2 separate regions of the Homo sapiens genome follow, and region 2 is linked to region 1. The links are contacts of gene promoters, found by promoter capture Hi-C in blood cells and fetal thymus (Javierre and others, 2016). All regions are on one chromosome and are shown on one strand. The core of a region is centred on a gene start or on the middle of the fragment in contact, and the rest is flanking DNA. Distances in the headings are between cores, read along the strand shown.

Evidence for each region. The method cuts DNA at HindIII sites, captures the fragments that hold promoters and counts their contacts. A CHiCAGO score of 5 or more calls a contact.
Region 2: a fragment that was not itself captured here is called in contact with the fragment with the promoter of TYK2 in region 1 in 2 of 17 cell types (erythroblasts and total CD8 T cells); the score reaches 6.2 in erythroblasts.

What each region holds. Positions count from the first base shown.
Region 1 is chr19:10,378,957-10,382,342 of GRCh38, reverse strand. It overlaps TYK2 (tyrosine kinase 2), which reads left to right and starts at 1,771. Exons shown (of 25, transcript NM_003331.5): 1 at 1,771-1,963; 2 at 2,564-2,728. RefSeq lists enhancers at 1,142-1,805, 1,714-1,873. The HindIII fragment of the contact is 15,548 bases long and covers 1-3,386 here.
Region 2 is chr19:10,135,697-10,139,132 of GRCh38, reverse strand. DNMT1 (DNA methyltransferase 1) reads left to right here. Exons shown (of 41, transcript NM_001130823.3): 35 at 528-694; 36 at 1,124-1,301; 37 at 1,853-2,048; 38 at 2,846-3,012; 39 at 3,281-3,397. Among named protein-coding and RNA genes, the nearest start is that of EIF3G, 18 kb to the right of the region's middle. RefSeq lists an enhancer at 2,493-3,436. The HindIII fragment of the contact is 6,913 bases long and covers 1-3,436 here.

The DNA.
Region 1 (3,386 bases), core at 522-3,021:
GCTGAAGGGCAATGGTGTGATCTCGGCTCACTGCAACTTCTGCCTCCCAAGTTCAAGCGATTCTCCTGCCTCAGCCTCCTGAATAGCTGGGATTACAGGTGCCCACCACCATGCCCAGCTAATTTTTGCATTTTTAGTAGAGACAGGGTTTCACCATGTTGGCCAGTCTGGTCTTGAACTCCTGACCTCAGGTGATCCGCCCGCCTCCACCTCCCAAAGTGCTGGGATTACAGGTGTGAAAGAGACCATTCCCGATCTCTTTCAGCATTTTCATACTGAATGTCCACAGCTGCCCTGTGAGGAGGCTTTTTACCCATATTTTCTGACTCAGAGAGAAGCAGCCACATGTCCCTTGGCCATGGCAGTTAAGACCAACTCCATGGAGCTGGGTGTCTTAGCTCACATCTGTAATCCCAGCACTTTGGAAAGCCAAGGCAGGATGATTGCTTGAGGCCAGAAGTTCAAGACCAGCCTGGGCAACATAGCCAGACCCCATCTCTACAAAAATTTAAAAATTAGCCACAAAATTTAAAAATTAACAACAAAAGGGCCGGGTGCGGTGGCTCACGCCTGTAATCCCAGCGCTTTGGGAGGGTGGATCACGAGGTCAGGAGTTCGAGACCAGCCTGGCCAAGATGGTGAAATCCCATCTCTACTAAAAATACAAAAATTAGCCGGGCGTGGTGGCGGGCGCCTGTTGTCCCAGCTACCCAGGAGGCTGAGGCAGGAGAATCGCTTGAATCCGGGAGTCTGAGGTTGCAGTGAGCCGAGATCGCAGCATTGCACTCCAGCCTGGGCGACAAGAGCGAAACTCCATCTTAAAAAAAAAAAAAAAAAAAAGTGGAAGATGAGGAAGTTGATCAGACATCAAGGATGAGCGGATGACTTAATAGGCTTCTTTGCTAAGACTTGGCTGGGCAGGTGAAAGACAAAGTCGAGGAGTGGTTATGGTGTGGCACAGAAGAAGGGTCAGAGGACGGTCTTTGTTACCTCTTCATGCCTGAGTTTCTTCCTCTGTGAAATGGGGATAATAAGAGCCGCCATACAGGGAATTGCTGCTAGGATCAAATGAGATAATGTATGTGAAACGCTCTGGCTGTAGGCTTCTCAGCAAATGGGCACGACTTGCGGAGTGGGGATTTGAATTCACGTCTGGCGGGATGTCCAAGCTGCTACCCTGACCGCTAGGGAGCTTCAGAGGACAGGGCTGCAGGTGATCAGGAAGAGGACTGGGGCAGGTGGGCGAGGAATGCCTCCCAGGAGTGAAGGAGGGGGAATTCTAGTCAGCAGGATGGAGTCGGCCAGGTAGAAACGAGGGAAAGGAGACAGGACCGGATGGAACGGGGAAGCCAAAGGGCAGGGCGTCGGAGGGTTGAATGGTGGCCGGTGCAGCTTTGAACACCGAGGTGAGGACATGCAGCTGTGTCCTAGGGTCAGGACCGTACACGCCTGACCCAATTCCACAGCACGGAGGGGAACTCCAGGATCCGGCCGCGTTGCCCACACACTTCGCTCTCCCTCCCGCCTCTCGCAAGCCCCTCCCCCGTCTCCGTCCACCGAGTGCCAGCCAATAGCAGAAGCGACAGCGCATCTGGGTGCCGACTCAGCCAATCGCGGCTGAGTGACGAATGAGCCCCAGGACCAATGAGAGTGCCGCCACCATGGCAAAAAAAAAAAAATCCAATGGTGACGAGCAGGGAGAACAGAGCAGCTGCCAATGGGCGTGTGCGTTTCAGGCGGCCAATGGGAGGAGGCGTCTCGGCGGGGGACAAGCAGTAGCTACCCGCGGGAGCGGGGAGGGGTCCGGGTTCGAGCTTGTGTTCCCCCGGAAGGGTGAGTCTGGACGCGGGCGCGGAAGGAGCGCGGCCGGAGGTCCTCAGGAAGAAGCCGCGGGGACTGGCTGCGCTTGACAGGCTGCACTTGGATGGGAGCACCTGGTGCCTCGGGACTGCTCCGATGCCCGGTGGGTGCACATCCCAGTTCCCGCCGTTGCCGGCCGGGTTTAGAGGTTTTGGGGGGAGGACATGGGGGCGTGCAGCCTTCCCAGTTGCAAACTTCACTCCGACCCTGTCTTCAAAGCTGGGTCTGGGTCCAGTGGGGACGAGAAAGGAGGAAGGAGGAAGTAGGCTCCGCGAAAGCCCCATCCCCGGGATCTCATCTATAACATGAATAGGTATTAATGGCAAAGGCTAATTAAGCGCTTACTGTATACCAGGCACTTTCTCTGCCTCCTCGCGTTAAATCCTCCCAGCAGCCTTTTGAGGTAGACACTGTTACATGCCCATTTTCCAGATGAGGAAACCAGCAACATGGGTGGAAGTGACAGCCCCTCCACTTCCATACTGGCGCCCTCAGGAGGCTCAGGCCCTGGATTGGGGGGATGGAGCTGGACATAAACTCTCCTAGGCTTTGGGGAGTCAACAGGGACTGAGGTCACTCATGGGGGTAAATGTGGGAGAGGAGAATTGTGGCCTGAAAGAGGCCATCACCACGATGAAACTAATAACAATTATGTTATTCTTGTTTTGGTCATATTTGTTCTTTTTGTGTGTGCCTGAATCAGGGTCTGTGCTGAATGTGTAATATGCGGAACTATATTGAAACATTACAACCATCTTTTGATGGCAACACCCTGAGGACCTCCCTTTTCCAGATGGGGAAACTGAGGCCCAGAATTGCTAAGTGGCTTGCTTGAGTTGACACAGGGAGCTCCAGGACTCACCCTCAGGTATGTTTGACCACATCTGCCTGTCTGGTTATTTTGGGGAGGTGTGTTAAGAGCAGATTTTTATTTTACTTTTTATTTATTTATTTATTTATTTATTTATTTATTTATTGTATTTTAGTAGAGATGGGGTTTCACCATGTTGGTCAAGATGGTCTCAATCTCCAGACCTCGTGATCTGTCCGCCTTGGCCTCCCAAAGTGCTGGGATTACAGTCATGAGCCACCGCGCCTGGCCCTTTTTATATATTTTTATTACTTATTTATTTATTTATTTATTTATATTTTTAGAGTCAGGGTCTCACTCTGTCACCCAGGCTGGAATGCAGTGGTGCGATCACTGCTCACTGCAGCCTCCAACTCCTGGGCTCAGGAGATCCTCCCACTTCAGCCTCCCGAGTAGCTTGGAGTACAGATGTGCACCCCCACGCCTGGCTAAATTTTAAAAATTTCTTGTAGAGGCCGGGCACAGTGGCTCACGCCTGTAATCCCAGCACTTTGGGAGGCCGAGGCGGGTGGATCACCTGAGGTCAGAGGTTCAAGACCAGCCTGGCCAACATGGCAAAACCCTGTCTCTACTAAAAATACAAAAATTAGCCCGGTGTGGTGGCAGGCGCCAGCTACTCAGGAGGCTGAGGCAGGAGAATCACTTAAACCCAGGA
Region 2 (3,436 bases), core at 176-2,675, 240 kb after region 1:
CCTCTCTGTATCAGCTCAGCAATTGAGGGCATAATTAAAAATGAAACAGCTATCCAGATGCTAGCACAGGATGTCTGCCTAAGTGGGCAAGCACTTGGCTACCCGGTCCCCTAGCTCAGCCTCAGGGCGACTCAGGCTCACCAGACAAGACTTGTTGCAGCCACGTTCTCTGTCCTTGTGACCACAGCCATCAGGGAAGCGACAGGGCTCCTGGTCTCCAGTGTTCTCCCCGAGTGCTAAGACCTTGGGGCCCTTGCAGTGCTTTCAGAGCTGGCCGGACTTCCCCGCAGGGTTTGCTCCCACCTTCCCCAGTGGCTGTCCCCTGGGCTCAGCTGCTTTTGTTCTTTATCTGCTCCAAACTCCTCTGACCAGGAGCACGCCTGCTGAGGTAACTGGGGATTTCTGCAAGTGCACTCCGCATTGGCCAGCCACTCCCGACTCAGGCTGCTGACCCTGGGCCTGGGTCTGGCCAGTCCAGTTGGGAGTGTCCCACTGACGGTGGGGTTGTCCGTCCTTCTCCCCCACAGGCCGGTCAGTACGGCGTGGCCCAGACTAGGAGGCGGGCCATCATCCTGGCCGCGGCCCCTGGAGAGAAGCTCCCTCTGTTCCCGGAGCCACTGCACGTGTTTGCTCCCCGGGCCTGCCAGCTGAGCGTGGTGGTGGATGACAAGAAGTTTGTGAGCAACATAACCAGGTAGGTGGCCCCCGTCGCTCCTCCACACACTGCCGAGCAGGCCTCAGTAGCTCATGGGGCCCGTGAGTACTCCCTGGTGAGGCTTGGGGAGGAGAGGATGGTACAGCATCTGCCCTGCCACACGGTGCTCTGCCACATGGCACTCTGCCACCTGTGGTCTCCAGTTCTGACCCTGCATCATCTGCTTCCCTAGTAGATAGCATGTGCAGAGCGGCCAGCCGCATGCTTGGCTGTGGTCATCCACAAAGCCCACGCCATAGCCCCATCCCCCCTTCCAGATGGCATCCAGGCACACTGCCACCCATGTGACCTCGGGCAGTGCTGTGATCTCGGGAGAAGGCCATCTGAGCAGGCAGGGGGTGGCACCTGTGATGAGGGGACAGCTGCTGCGTGCATCTCCAGAGGTGTTGACCTCCTCCTCTGTTGCAGGTTGAGCTCGGGTCCTTTCCGGACCATCACGGTGCGAGACACGATGTCCGACCTGCCGGAGGTGCGGAATGGAGCCTCGGCACTGGAGATCTCCTACAACGGGGAGCCTCAGTCCTGGTTCCAGAGGCAGCTCCGGGGCGCACAGTACCAGCCCATCCTCAGGGACCACATCTGTAAGGTAATGGCACCCTGACAGAGCGGCTCCTCCTCGAGGCCCAGCCCAGCAGCCTCGTGGGAACAGTCAGCCTGCCCAAGACTCAGGGGAGACATGGAATCTGATCCCAGGCTCCTCCTCCCGAGTCCTCAGCCTTTGTGTGACCCCTGGTCTCTCTTGCATGGTCATGGGAAGTGTCAGAGCTCCCGCAGTCCTGGACTTGGTCTGGAATGGTGTCAAGCCACTGCCCACCCACCACTGCCTTCCCCCTTGCTGCCTCTCCCCGCATGTTTTCCCAGGATGCCAAGACCAGCCCTTTCACCATCCCCTGGCACCACTCCCCTTCCCCCACCCTAAAGGCTCAGCTTAGATTCCCACGCTCTCCTACACCTGCGCTGCCTCAGGTCCCTGCCGTGGCCTCGAGCCAAGTGCGATATCCCTGACTGTCTCTTTCCCGATGGGCGTGAGCCCCAGGGGGCTTCCTGGTCACCATGGTGTTCCCAGCTCCCAGCCCACCATGGATGCTCGGATGCTGCTCACATGAGGTGACAGCTGGGCCCCCCACACTCTTTCAGGACATGAGTGCATTGGTGGCTGCCCGCATGCGGCACATCCCCTTGGCCCCAGGGTCAGACTGGCGCGATCTGCCCAACATCGAGGTGCGGCTCTCAGACGGCACCATGGCCAGGAAGCTGCGGTATACCCACCATGACAGGAAGAACGGCCGCAGCAGCTCTGGGGCCCTCCGTGGGGTCTGCTCCTGCGTGGAAGGTGGGTCCTGTAAGTTGTGGTTCCCGGTGGGCTGAGGGGAAGGAAGGCAGAGCCCTGGGCCTTTGGCCTGTGAACCTGGAGGCCAGGGCAGGGCACAGACACACCAAGCCTGGGTGTCCCAGAGAAGGTAGCTGCTGACCATGTTGAGTAGTAAAAGCAGGCTGGGTTCATGGCCCACACCTATAATCCCAGCACTTTGGGAAACCAAGGCGGGAGGATCACTTGAGCCTGGGAGGTTGAGGAGGCTACAGTGAGCTGTGATTGTGCCATTGCACTCCAGCCTGGGAGACAGAGTGAGACCCTGTCTCTAAAAAGAAAAAAAAAAAACAATAAATAAATAATAAAAGCAGGTCAGGCACGATGGCTCACCTCTGTAATCCCAGCACTTTGGGAGGCCAAGGCAGGCAGATCACTTGAGATCAGGAGCTCGAGATCAGCCTGCCCAACATGGTGAAACCCCATCTCTATTAAAACTACAAAAATTAGCCGGGCGTGGTGTCGCACGCCTATAATCCCAGCTATTTGGGAGGCTGAGGCAGGAGAATCGCTTGAACCCCATAGGCAGAGGTTGCAGTGAGCCAAGATCATGCCATTGCACTCCAGCCTGGGCAACAGAGCGAGACATATAATACTAATAATAAAAACAGTGCCCAGAGAACGAGGATTGTTGGCTGCTCCACCCCAGGGGGCCCCTTGCACAGGAGGTGCCATCTCTGCCTCCCAAAGCTCTAAGAGCCACTGTCCCAAGCCTATACCCCATCCCACAACTGCAGCCTCATCACTGTCCTGTCTTCCAGCCGGCAAAGCCTGCGACCCCGCAGCCAGGCAGTTCAACACCCTCATCCCCTGGTGCCTGCCCCACACCGGGAACCGGCACAACCACTGGGCTGGCCTCTATGGAAGGCTCGAGTGGGACGGCTTCTTCAGCACAACCGTCACCAACCCCGAGCCCATGGGCAAGCAGGTAGGTGGGGAGGGGGCATCCGAGGGCCTGGGTCAGGCCCTGTACTTGGCGGCCTAACTAGGTGGAAGTGTGGGTTTAGCCAAGTGGGGGACAGCACCCCAGGACCCCAGGCACCTGGCCTCTGCCTCCTGCCCCTCCACGTCCACGGGACAAGCTCATAGGCCAAGGCCATGGCCGTATGCTGTCACAGTGCCATTTCCCTCCCTGTCCCCGACGGTGACCCGGCCTGGGTGCTACTGCCCTCGCCCACCGCGCCTCTTTCCCCCAGGGCCGCGTGCTCCACCCAGAGCAGCACCGTGTGGTGAGCGTGCGGGAGTGTGCCCGCTCCCAGGGCTTCCCTGACACCTACCGGCTCTTCGGCAACATCCTGGACAAGCACCGGCAGGTCAGTGGGGCGGCGCCCGCTGGGTCTGGACAGGAAGGA